Regions from separate parts of the Homo sapiens genome. Here regions 1, 2 and 3 are each linked to region 4. Evidence: promoter capture Hi-C in human tissues and cell types (Jung and others, 2019). All regions are on one chromosome and are shown on one strand. The core of a region is centred on a gene start or on the middle of the fragment in contact, and the rest is flanking DNA. Distances in the headings are between cores, read along the strand shown.

What was found. Contacts are between HindIII fragments. The study calls those that stand out against the background at their distance.
Region 1: a fragment that was not itself captured here is called in contact with the fragment with the promoter of APH1B in region 4 in 2 of the 25 tissues and cell types used here (adrenal gland and aorta).
Region 2: a contact is called between a fragment that was not itself captured here and the fragment with the promoter of APH1B in region 4, in 1 of the 25 tissues and cell types used here (pancreas).
Region 3: a fragment that was not itself captured here is called in contact with the fragment with the promoter of APH1B in region 4 in 2 of the 25 tissues and cell types used here (dorsolateral prefrontal cortex and mesenchymal stem cells).

The regions. Positions count from the first base shown.
Region 1 is chr15:63,680,370-63,683,936 of GRCh38, forward strand. It overlaps HERC1 (HECT and RLD domain containing E3 ubiquitin protein ligase family member 1), which reads right to left. Exons shown (of 78, transcript NM_003922.4): 35 at 168-407. Among named protein-coding and RNA genes, the nearest start is that of USP3-AS1, 81 kb to the left of the region's middle. The HindIII fragment of the contact is 3,848 bases long and covers 1-3,323 here.
Region 2 is chr15:63,613,667-63,617,718 of GRCh38, forward strand. It overlaps HERC1 (HECT and RLD domain containing E3 ubiquitin protein ligase family member 1), which reads right to left. Exons shown (of 78, transcript NM_003922.4): 75 at 2,764-3,016; 76 at 2,102-2,254. Among named protein-coding and RNA genes, the nearest start is that of USP3-AS1, 15 kb to the left of the region's middle. The HindIII fragment of the contact is 3,211 bases long and covers 298-3,508 here.
Region 3 is chr15:62,829,594-62,833,480 of GRCh38, forward strand. The region is part of intron 54 of TLN2 (talin 2); the gene reads left to right. It overlaps LOC105370854 (a long non-coding RNA gene), which reads right to left. Exons shown (of 7, transcript XR_007064671.1): 7 at 1-3,887. Among named protein-coding and RNA genes, the nearest start is that of MIR190A, 7.6 kb to the left of the region's middle. The HindIII fragment of the contact is 3,371 bases long and covers 150-3,520 here.
Region 4 is chr15:63,276,238-63,280,264 of GRCh38, forward strand. It overlaps APH1B (aph-1B gamma-secretase subunit), which reads left to right and starts at 1,368. Exons shown (of 6, transcript NM_031301.4): 1 at 1,368-1,499; 2 at 2,924-3,094. The coding sequence starts at 1,387. It overlaps LOC124903504 (a long non-coding RNA gene), which reads left to right. Exons shown (of 2, transcript XR_007064674.1): 2 at 1-615. RefSeq lists silencers at 895-1,314, 1,395-1,674. The HindIII fragment of the contact is 12,664 bases long and covers 1-3,458 here.

The DNA of each region.
Region 1 (3,567 bases), core at 150-2,649, 400 kb after region 4:
ACTATCTTCCTGTTTGTTGTTAATAAATGTTTTAAGAACCAGAAAGTATTAGAGAGAAAGGAGAGACGAGCAGATAATCTATAAACTGAATACGTGGCACTTGAATAACCGAGTTGACTATAAATAGAAACAAGAAAAATGTAATGCTTGTGAATGGGTGTCGGTACCTCTCCATTTTTCCCAAAAGAAATGGTCCTGGCTTCCATGTCTAACACACAGGTAATGAAATCTCCTTGAGTAAAGCTGGACAATGTGAGAGTCTGTTCTCCATTGTGATAGAGGTTACCACTGTAGGCCCTATAGAGCCACATATCCGAGGTAGTGCGGTGATTAAAGTCATGTACTGGCCAGCGAGAAACTCCAACACACGTGCCTTCATTACCTCTGTTTTCCTTCACAATATAAAACTAAAATAAAAGTGGGATATTCATTAATACTCAAAAAATCTATTTATATACTATTAACTGCATTAACCAATACTGAAAATATGTTTATAAATAATACTAATGCATTTATGGAAACATGTTATTTTCAGCATAAATAAAAATAACACGAAAATAATCGCATCAATTTAGAAAGATTTTAAAACATTCTTTATCTTGCAGGGCATTTAGAATAACCTTTGAATATCTATAGTATTTAAAATAAGCAATTCTAACTTACAACTTAATAATGAAGCTGAGGAAGTATGTTTAGTCCAGAAATTAATGAAAACTTTAATTCTTTACATATAGATTTTAACTACTCTCTTGCATATACCTCTGTTTAGAAAAAGAGTTAATATATTAAGCCTGAGACTAGGTGTATTGTTTTGTTTTGTTTTGTTTTGTTTTGTTTTTAATTTTCTAAAGAGATGGGGTCTCACTCTGTTTCCCAGGCTGGAGTACAGTAGCATGATCATGGCTCACTGAAGCGTCAAATTCCTGGGCTCAAGCAATTCTCCTGCCTCAGTCTCCTGAGTAACTAGGACTACAGGTGTACACCATCATGCCTGGCTAGTTATTTTTTGTAGAGATGAGGTCTTGTTATGTTACACAGTCTGGTCTTGAACTCCTGGCCTCAAGCAATCCTCCCACCTCGGCCTCCCAAAGTGTTGGGATTATAGGCATCAGCCACTACACCTAGTGTGACTATTACTATTTTCAAAAAGGCATGCTTGCAACACTGGCCTTTGGCTAGGACCTGGGAATTTGACTGGTAAAGTTTCTTACACTGATTTAAAAAAAAAAAAACTTCCCCTACGTGATAAAGGTGGCTCACTGACCTAGAACATTTAAACACACAATGTGGTTTATGCTGAATACCTGCTCTCCTTCTGGGAGTATGAAATGTTGGTACATGTCAGGTTGAAGGTGTCTACGTGACCAGCCCCCAGTAAAAACCTTGGGTTCTGAATCTCTAATGGGGTTCTCTAGAAACATCACACACATGTTATTTTTCTTGCTGGGGAAAGCTTGTGCACTTGTGCTCATGGCAGGGAGAGAACAGAAGGAAGCCTACAGGATTCTTCTATACCTCACCTGTGTCCTTCCCTTATTAACTGGGTGTATATCCTTACCGCATCATTATAATATAAGTCTCCGTCATGAGTGTATCAACGTGTGGAGTCTGACGAGTCCTTCTAGTGAATCTCTGAATGTGAGGGTGGTCTTGGGGACTCATGACTTAGCAGTGGCAGCAATGAGATTCACTAGAACAACCCTGATGCATTAGAATATAGTTAAATATTGCTGGGGAAAAAGAAAGAGACGAAAGGAAAAGATAAAACTCTGGTACCTAGGTGGCTATGGAGTTACACATAGTATGAAACAGAAGGTGGACTGCTATCTGTTGTGAGGGGCAAAAGTTACCTATCAATTTTTAAGATAAATCCAATCACAAGAGAGTTGGTTTGCTACCCCAGACGCTCTTGGCCTTGCTAGCTAAAGTTAGGAAAAAAGAGCAGCTCAGGTAAAAACTGTGCTGTTCTTTCTTCCAGGAACAACTTCTTTCCTGAGGAGAAAGGGCCCAAATATTCCCACAAGTGGGCTTTAGATGAGCCAGAGTAGAAAAATTAGCTTGTAGTTGCTCTCTCCTCCAGTGGGAGGGGAAAGGGTTCAAAAACCCCTGACAGCTTTGAGTGTGGGTGCAGGGGCTCACACCTGTAATCTTAGCACTTTGGGAGGCTAAGGAGGGAGGACTGCTTGAAGCCAGGAGTTTGAGACTACCTTGGGCAAGAAAGCAAGAACCCCATCTCTACAAAATATACAAAAACAAACAAACAAGAATAGAAAGGAACTACTCCAGCTATTTTCTTAAGCTGAGCTTTTGCTATTGCTACAGCAGGTTCTCCCCCTGCCACAATTTACCTTGTAAATGCTAAATTTATTGCTAGAGGTTTGAGTAAACTTAAGATGTGAGAAGGGAGGAAGAAAACTTTTAAAAACAGCTTTATTTTGTGGCAACTACATCTGGATGTATGATTAAAAAAAAAAAAGATGCAAAGGCTGGGCACAATGGCTCATGCCTGTTATTTCAGCATTTTGGGAGGCCGAGGCAGGCAGATCACTTGAGGTTGGGAGTTCAAGTCCAGCCTGGCCAACATGGTGAAACCTTATATCTACTAAAAACACAAAAATTAGCCAGGCATGCTGATGCGTGCCTCCAGTCTCACCTATTCGGGAGGCTGAGGCGGGAGAATCCCTTGAAACTGGCAGGTGGAGGTTGCAGGGAGCCGAGCTTGTGCCACTGCACTCCAGCCTGGGCAACAGAGCTACACTCTGTCTCAAAAAAAAAAAAAAAAAAAGAAAGAAAAAAAATTAAGATGCAAAATGTTACAAGCTTGTAACTTCATAAATGCTAAAGTTTCATCCTGATCAGGGAAAGCTCCAAAAGAAAAACATACTAGTGGGACACAACTTACTTGCTTTTTGTCACCAGTGGGTGGATTGGAATTTAAACTCTATATTAAAAACAAAACAAGTGTCTATAACTGGTGGGTTTTTGCTATGATTTTTTCCTATTGGAGTCTCTGGGAAAACAGAGATAAAATAAAAGAGAGGCAAGCTCTAGATGGAGATATAGACATATGCTTTTAGAGTTTTAAAAAACATTCAGTGGCTAACGAGTTCTTATAAAATCATATGTCTAACACTTACAGGCTGATGACTTTCTAGCCTAAGTACATATTTCTGAGTGGGTCAATCTGGACTCCAAGATTGACAAGCAAACAGAGCTTAGAAAAGCCTTGTTTTCAAGCCTGGACTTAAAACACTATTGTCAGGTCCTACACCATCTAAGGTTTGTTTTTGTTTTTAAGAGATAGGGTCTCTTTCTGTTACCCAGGCTGGCATGCAGTAGTGTAAACAGAGCTCACTGTGGCTTCAAACTCCTGGGCTCAAGCAATCCTCCAGCCTCTGCCTTCCAAGTACTGGGACTGTATAGGCACATGCCCCCATAACTGGCCCCATCTAGATTTAACTGCTGCCCCAAAAAGCTGCTGGCTTGGAATCCTGAACTCACACATTCTAATTGCCTGGACCTGACTATAAGCTAAAACCTGACACTGTGTGCTCTAGGTTATTTCAA
Region 2 (4,052 bases), core at 653-3,152, 340 kb after region 4:
TATATATATAAAAAAAAACTGGGCCAAGTACAATGGTTTGCCCTGTCATCCCAGCTACTTGGAAGGCTAAGGCAGGAGATCCCTTGAGCCCAACAGTTCAAAGCTGCAGTGAGTGCCACTGCACTCCAGCCTGGGTGACAGAGCAAGACCCTCTCTTAAAAAATAAAATAATAAAAAACTGGCACTAAGGTTGTCCCATAAGGATCAGAGATTGGCAGTAAAGGCAGTCTCTTCTGATAGTAAAGGTCAATACCCCACCAAAGTCTGCCAAACGAAAACAAAAACGAACAAGCTGTTATGCTTGGTGGAACACAAAACAAAAGCTGTCTGGAAAAAAAATTAGGCTGAGGTATGGGGCTGGCTGCTTGGAGATGGCAGGGGGACAACTGAGGACAGTTATGGGATAAACACTCAGTTCTAAGAGATGAAGAGGAACCAAAGACCAATTCATATATAAAGAAAGAGGAGGAAGGGCTTGTTACTGAGAACAGAACAAAGCCAGGGCAGAGCAGAACACAGCTGTGGAAAGGGAGTGTCCATCCAACCCTCAGAAGAAGGGTCATCAGAAAAGCCTGGACACCATCTTAGAGCCTGGTTTGGGGTCTTGGCTCTGCTGTGGGCACTCAGTGCTTTCTTCTGTGAAACAGAGCTGGCAATCCTTACCTCACAGAGTAACTATGGGAAAAATGGCACCCAAGAGTGCCTGGCACCATGGCTGGCGTGCAGAAGGTTATCAATACATTTCTAGTCAGTTATTTATTCTCTGAGGATTAAAAATATTCATCAACTGGAGACAAACACTAATCCCTGGCTGTGTAAATAGCATCACTGACAAGACCCAACTTCACTAGGCTAAAGATATCATTTTTCTGATGGGACTTGGCCCAAAGTCTAAGAAGGAGCTGGGAGTGAGGGGTATGGAGTATGTATACTTCAAATCACTAAACTTCTATAGCTTCACAGCCTGAGTCCAGCTCTTGAGAAGACCCCAACATATTCTGCAAATAAAGTATTACTGAAATGCTATTAATGACTGTATTATCAAAAGAACCATTTTTGGACACCATATTTATGACCACATGAGTGGTCACTCATTCACACTCCCATTATTAAATGCTTACTTACCTGTCAGCACAGAACAAGGATAACTCAAATGAAATAGAAAATGCATTCTTCATTCAATTTCTTGCAAGTTGAGGAAACAAGACCTAAATTCTGGGGCCTACTTCCTAGACCATAACATAGAAGTATGTGATATATCTTGAGGAACTTCAAAGTAAGGAAAAAGATCACAGGTTGGTGACCTGGAGGTAAGCTTGTGTGTGCAGGAGATGCCCTCTTAGCTGAGGCTTAAAGAACAGCAGCAAGACAGGGAAAGGGAAATCCATGTGAGGTCATAAGACCAGCATTTGAAGGTTCATTTACGTGGGCCCTGACTAACCCAACTAGAGTGGAGACGCTGAGCTGGGAAGCAGTAAGACATGAGGACAAACAGGACTAAGGAGGAGTAAGGAGGAGTAAGAAGGCAAGGTCTGAATGCCAGATGAAAACAGTCTCAATCCAACCAAAGACCAATTCAGAACCGATTTAAGGCACTGGGTATGGAGAAAAAGGCCTGAGAAGTCTCTGAATAGGGTTTGGAATATAAATACAAAGGAATCACCAAGTGCGGTGGCTCACACCTGTAATCCCAACACTTTGGGAAGCTGAGGCAGGTGGATCACTTGAGGCCAGGAGTTCAAGACCAGCCTGGCTAACATGGCAAAACCCCATCTCTACCAAAAAATAAAAAGATTAGCTAGGCGTGGTGACACATGCCTGTAGTCCCAGCTACTGGGGAGGCTGAGGCCAGAGAATCACTTGAACCCAGGAGGCAGAGGCTGCAGTGAGCTGAGACTGAACCACTGCACTCCAGCCTAGGCGACAGAGTGAGGTGCTGTCTCAAAAATAAATAAGTAAATTAAAATAAATAAATTCATACATACATACAGAGGAATTAACACAGTAAATACATATTAGCAGATTTTGGCATACCCAGTCAGCTCTCATTTGGAGAGAAACCCAAGCATTCATGTGTACCTCCCGAGATGTTTCATCTCACCTGTCTGTCCATCTCATGAAGTCGATATTCAATGGCCCTCTCCACATATTCCTTCCTGTTGGAAAATGTGAGTGGGATACTATTTCCACCAGGGATTATAGGAACCATTTTGCCATCAGCACTCTGGCCAACAAAAGAATCAAGAGGAATCATCTAGGAACAGAAGAAAACAGAATTTTTATTACATGGTAGAAATGACAGCAAAAAGTATTTTACATACAAATACGGCACAGCAATAACAAACTCACAATTTTTAAGGATAAAAACAAGGAACACAAAACAGGTAGGACTGATCAGGCTACTTGATCAGCAGGAATGTGATGACTCAACCAGCTGTAGTTAAAAATGGGACAAAATCTCTCTGTTCACAAACCAAGCCTGTTGAACTCTCGTGACCTCAGGCCTCCCCTTCCACCTTGGTTCTTCACTCTAACAGGCAGAAAAAAATTAAGGGGGAAGGAGCAACTAAGTGCAGGAGCCTGCTCTATTAGAAGCTGTTTAAACTGCTGCGGTTGAGCTGCTAAGGGCAGCAATGGCATAGATATGGCATTGTTCAGCCAGACAGCAAGTGGAAGACTGTATCTCAATTTTACACAGAAAAATTCTAGTCTGTGCATATAGGACGTCAACACCAGTAGAAACATAGACTGGCCAGGATTTACCTCATGGAAACTCTCCTCGGTAATCCCACTGTCTTCAATGTGAAGAATGCTGTTGAGAGTCTGCACGTAGAGCAGATCCACCTCCTCCAGGTCCTCTAGGGTGAGTGGGACACAGCACAGCTGCTTCCACACCAGAGGGGCCAAGTGGAGGTCCAGAGGCTTCTTTGTGCGAATGGCAACCCCCATTAAAATTCCTAAAAACTTAAACTGCATTAAGTGTTCATCGAGGCAGGCAGAAGGGTTAAAAAGGAACCTGTAAAATTAAAGGGAATATTTCAAACAGCATTTTCCTTATTTCTATTAGAAATAAGTTAGCAACAACAGCTATAGCGTTAGTCTATACCTGTACTGTTCAATATGGCATCCATTAGCCACATAAGGCTAAAGTAATTAAATAAAACTAAAAATTCAGTTCTTCGGCTTCCCTAATCACACGTTGAGTTCTCAAAAGCCACATGTGGACCGTAGTTATTGTTTCACACAGCACATGGACTATATTCTGAACTATTTTTAGAAGAACTATGTAAGGATCTTAAGCTACCTGCTCCAGAATGCCTTGTTTTCTAAAATCATTATCTTTTTTTTTTTTTATTATTATACTTTAAGTTTTAGGGTACATGTGCACAACGTGCAGGTTTGTTACATATGTATACATGTGCCATGTTGGTGTGCTGCACCCATTAACTCTTCATTTAACATTAGGTATATCTCCTAATGCTATCCCTCCCCGCTCCCCTCACCCCACAACAGGCCCCAGTGTGTGATGTTCCCCTTCCTGTGTCCATGTGTTCTCATTGTTCAATTCCCACCTATGAGTGAGAACACGAAGTGTTTGGTTTTTTGTCCTTGCAATAGTTTGCTGAGAATGATGGTTTCCAGCTTCATTCATGTCCCTACATGACATGAACTCATCATTTTTTATGGCTGCATAGTATTCCATGGTGTATAAGTGCCACATTTTCTTAATCCAGTCTATCATTGTTGGACATTTGGGTTGGTTCCAAGTCTTTCCTATTATGAATAGTGCCGCAATAAACATACGTGTGCATGTGTCCTTATAGCAGAATGTTTTATAATCCTTTGGGTATATACCCAGTAATGGGATGGCTGGGTCAAATGGTATTTCTAGTTCTAGATCCATGAGGAATCACCACACTGACTTCCACAATGGTTGAACTAGTTTACAGTCCCACCAACAGTGTAAAAGTGTTCCTATTTCTCCACATTCTCTCCAGCACCTGTTGTTTCCTGACTTCTTAATGATCGCCATTCTAATTGGTGTGAGATGG
Region 3 (3,887 bases), core at 585-3,084, 450 kb before region 4:
CACATCATGGAGAATGGGGTATCCATCCTCTCAAGCATTTATCCTTTGTGTTACAAACAATCCAATTACACTGTTCTAATTATTTTAAAATGTACAATTAAGTTATTGACCATAGTCACCCTGTTGTGCTGTCACATGTAGTAGGTCTTATTCTATTTTTTTGTACCCATGAACCATCCCTACCTCCCAGCCCCTCACTACCCTTCCCAGCCTCTGGGAGCCATCCTTCTACTCTCTATGTCCATGAGTTCAATTGTTTTGATTTCTGGATCCCACAAATAAGTGGGAACATACAATGTTTGTCTTTCTGTGCCTGGCTTATTTCACTTAACATAAGGATCTCCAGTTCTAGCCATGTGGTTGCAAATGGCAGGATCTCACTCTTTTTTATGGCTAAAGACTATCAATTTATCCTGTTTAATGAAATTGTTTTCTAAAGTTCCTTGCTTTAGCTTGATGCCAGTAGTTATAGAGAAACATAAATAGCCACATGCACAGGATTAGTCATAATCTTTAAAAGATTATTTTAGCGGGTCTTTACATGATCCAATTGTGGAAAGAATGAAACACCCAGAAGCGAGGATTCCGTTATCCCCTTTATAAACCAGAAGGAGAGATCTGACTGACCCTGGTCAGGTCAGTAACATCTCAGCTAAAGAGGGCCTTAAGACACCAACCAGGTGAGCCTCTCTGGTGAGAAGGTGAGAATGAGAGCTCCAGGAGAGGGCCCAGCCTGCAGATTCTTCCCCGGAGTCACTGTGCACCATGTTGTTCTTCTTAGTCTCCCCAGTCTCTCAGCTGCAGTGGGGACTGTTCCATTAACAAATTCTGCATTTTAATTGGGATTCTTTTATTTAGGAAAGTCCTTTGAAGACCAAGCCAATTCTGTTTCCTTCTTGTGATATGGTTAAGTGTGTGTCCTTCCTACCTTCTCCCCTATTCCATTCTGCATGCTAATGGGAGCTGGAACTGATGGGGCACCTGGGTTTTTGACCATGTCTCCTTGGCTTGGAGAGATGCCATTTTCTCTAAGGCTAGAAGTTGTATGGTATGAGGACACGTTAAGTATTGGTGTCTGATTTCAGCAGTAGAGGTAGGGTGGGCAGTGCGTCTTAGTCATAAACCTGGCATACAGGAAAATAGGGACACAGCAGTCAGAAGGCAGGTTTCATCAGGGTACTCTGCCCAAACTGTAGTATCTAACATTAGCCCTCCATCCCTGTGCCATCCCAGTCAGCCTTTCTAGGGAGAATCTTAATACTTTCTTATCAGAGCAAATGTCTCCCAGAGATAAGAACTTCTGCCGTATCTGTTTTAAAGCATAGAGATGTTGTGGGAAGAAAAATAAAAATTCGTCAAAGAACATTACAACAGTTGCCATTACCAGAAAAATCTGTGGGTGTCAAAAATATTTCCAAGTTGAATATCTATTATTACAAGCTTGTGTTTAAAAAAAAAAAAAACTCCAGGCAGCGGAAGATGTGGGAGAGGCTCGTAAAATCAGTTGTGATGAGATGATCCTATCAGATCTACCCCTGCTAAAGACGTAGCACTTAATTTTAAAGAAATTCCATTTTTGAAAATCTTAAAATTTGGGAAATAAAAAGTCTGACAGAGTATTCCACACTGTAAAGTGGACTCGGGCGTGGAACCCATAGAGTAGCTGAGGACACCTGAGGCAAGAGCGTGAGAGACTTCAGGAGCCGCCATGAAGAGCTCCCACAAGCCTCCGTTTCCTCATCTGCAAAATGAGATGAGGAGTTTGGAGTCAAAAATTCTGTGATTTCCCTGGTGCTTTAATCTGTTATGTGCCTGACATTCTTTGGCAGAATGAATTTCCAGAAAAGCTCTTAATCTCACGGTTATTAAAATATACATTATTTATATATTTAATATATATAAATTAGAGCCTACTATAATTTATTTGGGGACTGACTACACAAGAGTTCCTTTTATACGAGAGTGTCTTACAATGGATCATTTCCGTATTTCAGTCACCAAATTCTATACTCCACCAGTCCAAAATGAGTCCAGTAGAACTAAATTCATGTCTGTCCTGAATACTCTTAGAGCAAGACTTGGTCAGCAATAAGAAAGAATGCACAAGTCTGTCTCAGAACTTCTGAAATGCTACCATCATTCAGATCCATTAGAAGTGCATTGAAATTGTATTTTGATAATGTAGGTTATAAAGAAAAAGGATTAGCACCTTTCATGGTTCAAGATGTGGCATTATGAATGGAGAGCTGGAGAAGACTTGTATCCCTCCTGTCTGACGTTTCACATGGGAGCGTTAGCAAGCTGACTTTGAACCTCTGGCACAAACCGTTTCTCACTGATGCCCCAAGGGGTGGCTTTGGCTAGTTAAAGTGCCTCATTTTGGAGTCAGATTTAGGTTTAGATTCTGGTTTAGATGCTTCATGCTGCCACATCACCTTGGCCCAATCATCTACCTTCCTGAGCCTGGGTTTTCTCACTGTAAAAATAAGGATAAAGATAATTCCAATATACGATCTTTTTTTTTTTTTTTGGTGAGAATTAAGTCATTGTATGTAGAAGTGCCTAACAAAATACTTGGTACACAGTAGGCACTCTTAAAAATCTACTACTGTTGGCACAAAGTGTGAATGTCCGTAATGCCACTGAATTGTACACTTAAAATTGGATAAAAGGGTAAGTTTTGTGTTACATATATTTTACCACACATACAGAGAAAAGTATTGCTGGGCCTGGCCATCATCTCTCAATGCCTGAAAGGTACCACCCACATCTTCAACACTGTGTGACCTGAGGGCAGCTTAACCAAATTGACCTAGAGTCACGGAATGTTGTCACACAGGTCTAATCTGACCACCCCCCGGCAAAACTGTGATGCTCCAACCCATGAGCCTGGGACCACAGTCTTTATACTTGTTCCACTTCTCCAAAGCTTCTTTTCAACTTCCTGAGTTGTTTTAGCAGCAAAGGAGATGGTGGTGAATTTAGACCAGAACCCTAATGGTCTGATAACACCTACACAGTGGTGTCCAGTGTTCTTCCCAAGGTGGATCCCGTGCCTCGGGTGTCCAGAGGACAGAACAAGCTCCACCTTGATGTCGTGTTGCCCTGGTTTCTTTTTCACCACTGGGCAATGTGTGCTTGGTCTATAACTCTCTCAGTGCTCAGCCACAGAAATGCCAGTGCTGTTTGGCTTTGATTTTTACCCAGGAAAAAGACAACTTTTCAGAACTGGTAGCCATCTTTCCTTTTTTTTTTTTTAAAGTCCATTTTTGAGGCTTAGGCTCTAGAAGAGAGTAAGTGCTATGATCTACTGTTTTGATTTTATTATTTTGGTTTCAGTTATTGATGTTGCTAAAACCATTTGAGTGTATTTTGTTCACAGTGAGTGTATATCTTTAAAGATTTTGTTCCAGAAAATGAGTCTGTCTGCAAATTTCCGTGGGATGTCAAGCTAACGGCTTTTTCCTTTTGGAGTTAGGGGGAAGGGGCTGCAGGTGGAGAGGCATCCTGACCTTTCTATCCTGGTATTGCTGTTGTACAACAGTGTCAGTGTATTAATACTTAACATTAGGTAAAAGGGTAAATTTTGTGTTATATATATTGTACCACACATACAAAGAAAACTATTGCTGTGCCTGGCCATTGTCTCTTAATGCCTGAAAGGTACCAGCCACATCTTCCACACTGTGACCCGAGGGTGGCTTAACCAAACTGACTTAAGAGTCCTGAAAGTTTGCACAGGGGACCTGTCATCTGCTTCTTGTTAAGGAACCATCCCATTTCAGGTGTGGTTTGTCAACAAAAAACAATAGGCAGGTGAAGAGCCAGGTGACCCGGCAGTAAGTAGTTTGGAAGAAAGAGCCCTTTGTGGATATGAATTGAATGTG
Region 4 (4,027 bases), core at 118-2,617:
ATATATGACTTTTAAATGGGCAAAGGTAATGTTTTTCTGTAAGAATTAAATACCTGCAGTTGTATTATTTGAAGGTGCATTTTCAGGGGCGAGCTGCAAAACATCTGTCAGGTCCCAACATTTGTCTACTGGTGTTTTTTTAAATGTGGATTGCCAAAATCTTTATTCATGATGGACATTATGTAGGAGTGGTTAATACTTACATAGCACTTACCTGTGTCAGGCACACTGATCAAAATAACCGACGAAGTATTATTCAACATAAAGAAAAATCTAACTTGGATGTGAATGATCAGAGAACTTAAGTTTTAATTTTTAAACCTTTCAGAAATTGTTAATATAGATGTTTATAACTTCCACCTTTTAAATTATTTCACTTATTGAACAGATATTAGTGAACTTCTAGGTGCTGAGGAAACAACAAAGAGCAAAGCAAAGTCCCTGTCCCCCAGGAGTTCGCGTTTTAACGGGGAAGAAAAATAAGCAAGTGAAATGGACGACTGTGAGAAGACGGAGCAGGGAGATGTTACTATTGCTTGTAGGGTGGTCACAGAATGCCTGCAAAAACAACCCTTTTGAAGAATTGGGAAAAAAATAAAAACCATTTGGCTGAAACAGCCCTGAGAAGGGCAGCTTCTTCCACCACTCTTTCATCATTTTACCATCTGTGGGTTATCCCCGGGGTCACTGCTATCCCAGCCTAGGTTTTATACAGGATGGAGTACGAAGTTCCCGCAACTATCCAAACGGTAAAATGTGCTTAAAAAAAAAAAAAAACCTATTTAAAAAGGAATCCTGCTTGTTCCTGCGCTACATTTTTGTTTAGTCTCTTTGGTTGACTTGGAATCTCTGCCTGTTCTCGGTGCATGCGGCTCGAAGGTGGGCTAGGGAGCTTCCCTTCTCTTAACCACCTCGCGGCCGGCACTGGAACCCGATCGGAGTGTATCTGTGGGGCTGCGGCGATGGCTGGGGCCCTAACGTCGCCGAGGACGCCCGCCTCGGGAGCAGGAGCTGCGGCGTGGCCCTGGCGCTTCCGGACACCCGGTAGGGCGGAGGGCCCAACGGTGGGGTCCGCGCTCACCGCCTTGAGCCCGCCCCTGCGCCCGGCGCCCTCAGCCCACGCCCCGCCCAGTCCCCCAGGCCCTAGCGTTTACCCCCACGCCCCGCCTCGCCCCGCGACCCACGTACCCCGCCTCCGAGCCCCGCCCCCGCCCCCACGTGCCCCGCCCCCGAGCCCCGCCCCCGTCCCCGTGCCTGCCCATGAGCCGCGCCCCGCCCCCCGCGTCCCGCTTAGCCCCCCACCCCGAGCCCCACCCACCGAACCCCGCCCGCGCCGGGAGCATCTCGCGTCCCCAACGGGCCCCCGGGTCGGTTTCCGCGGTGGCCATGACTGCGGCCGTGTTCTTCGGCTGCGCCTTCATTGCCTTCGGGCCTGCGCTCGCCCTTTATGTCTTCACCATCGCCACCGAGCCGTTGCGTATCATCTTCCTCATCGCCGGGTGAGGCGGTCGCGTCGGGAAACCCGGACGCCGGGGCTCCCCTCCCCCGCTGGGGTTACCCGCGACCCTCGGCGCCCCCACCGCGCGGCTCGACCTTGTTGCGTTTCAGACGGGAGGAGGGTTGAGAGGGGGAGAGCGGAGATCCGGCTCCCCAAAGGCGCCTCGCCCTCTTAGGAAGAAGCGCACACTGGGGGTCAGGGCCTTTTGCCTGGGGCTCATGGGTGGGGTTTAGTGATCCGTGAAGCTACTAAAGTTGTATAAAAAAATTATGGATAAGTTCATATATGCATCCTTCATTTTCTGGAGGGGGAGTCCCTAATTTCCCTCAGATTCTCAAAGGCATGTGTAATCCCCAAAGGGTTAAAAACCATTGGCGTTTAGGATAGTAGTGCGCGACTTCCGCCTATTAGAATCACCTGTGGCCAGGTGCTTTAAAACATGCCGATGCCCACCCCCACCCCGATCCATTGAATCAGAATGTCTAGGGGATGGGATTCGGGCTTCAGAAAAAAAAAAAAAAATTTAAGCTCCTTTTGGATGGTTCCGTTGTGCAGCCGAAGGGTGGAAACCTGTAAAAACACCGAAGCACCTGACTGTGCGTCTCCTTCTGGGAGCTTGGTAAATACCGGACTCTGGTGTCCCATCGCAGTCATCACCTGCCTCTTACTTGCACATACCACATCCCCCCTCCTCTGATGAGTCTCTCTTGGCACCAGACTAGGCCAATGATTCCCGCTTTTCTGCGTTTCTTCACCTCCCACAAACGTATTGAAAGTGCTTCGCTGCATGTCATTTTAAAAATAATAGAGATTTGGGAAGGGTCTGTAAAGCTTGCTATAATCATTAGAATCCCCAGGGGTGCTGTAAGACCTGGAGGGCTTGGATACTGATCCAGATCAGAACACAGGTTTTCAAGTTGAATTTTATACCAGTCACTTTATTAATAGAGATGTAGATATTTTTCTGGAAAAGATACTCATCTTTGCAGATATCTGATCAGTAAATCCATAATTTCTTGTAAGTTTTAAGAATATGAAAATTGCAGTAATCAGGGTTGTGTATTTTCTTGTTTTGGCTCATCAATGGGCAGAGCATTGATTAGAAAGAGTAGCAAATAACCAAGTTTCTAGCTAGATAGTCCTTGGCAGATAGAGTCTGCAGATGTACTTGCAAGTAGCAGGGTCATTGAAAAAAGTAATTGTTGGGAAACCTCAGCCTTCCTCTTGGACACGTTTGTCTCACCAAGGAAAATGCACCGTTAAGAACAACTGATCAGAGTATCACTTTATGAGGACTTTCTTTTCCTTATTGAAACGTCAAGAAATCTCTTCCTTCTCAAGCAGGTTTTTTTTTTTTTCCTGCTTTTAAACATTATTAATCCTGTACTGATGTTCACTTGTAACTTTTTTTCCCGTATTTTTCAGAGCTTTCTTCTGGTTGGTGTCTCTACTGATTTCGTCCCTTGTTTGGTTCATGGCAAGAGTCATTATTGACAACAAAGATGGACCAACACAGAAATATCTGCTGATCTTTGGAGCGTTTGTCTCTGTCTATATCCAAGAAATGTTCCGATTTGCATATTATAAACTCTTAAAGTAAGTTAAATACCTGCCTTACCTTTTTTTTCCCCAGTTAGATTTTAGTTATGATTTGGTCATTTGAAACGTGAATATAGTATTGTATCTATGCCCTCCTACATAGTACTAAGCCAAGAGATTGGTACATTTCCAGCCTGAAAATCTTGAGTGTTCTTTTATCTTGTGGAAATTTCTTATTTCCTTCCTTTCTTCCTTTATTCAAAAAAATATTTCTTGAGAATCAATCCCAGACACTATCCTAGGTACTGGGGATACATCAGTGATTAAAAGACAGAGTCTCTGGCTTCATGGAGCTTATATTATAGTAGGAAGAGACAGACAATAAATGAATGAACAAGAAATACACTGGTATAGTAGGTAAGTGTCATGGAGACAAACAAGCTAGGGAAGCATTAAAACAACTACAGAAATCATTCCAGCTTAGAATGTATATGTTCTCTTTGCCACCACCTAAGTTAATTCTTTTTTTTTTTTTTTTTGAGACAGAGTTTTCGCTCCTGTTGCCCAGGCTGGAGTGCAATGGTGCAATCTCAGCTCACGGCAACCTCTGCCTCCTGGGTTCAAGCGATTCTCCTGCCTCAGCCTCCCGAGTAGCTGGGATTACAGGTGTGCACCACCATGCCCGGCTAATTTTTGTAATTTTAGTAGAGACAGGGTTTCACCATGTTCGCCAGGCTGGTTTCAAACTCCTGACCTCCAGTGATCCGCCCACCTTGGCCTCCCAAAGTGTTAGGATTACAGGCCTGAGCCACCACACCCGGCCAAGATAAATAATTCTTATGGAGACCATGCCTTCCATTATTTTGACTTTAGTAGGGGAAAACAGGAGTTCCTTTTGTGGTATTTCCTGTAGTTTTAAATCTATAATAGAAAATCACATTTTAAAAAATGCCTTGGGTTCCCTTGTTGGGCCAGAAAGTAGGTCTTCTC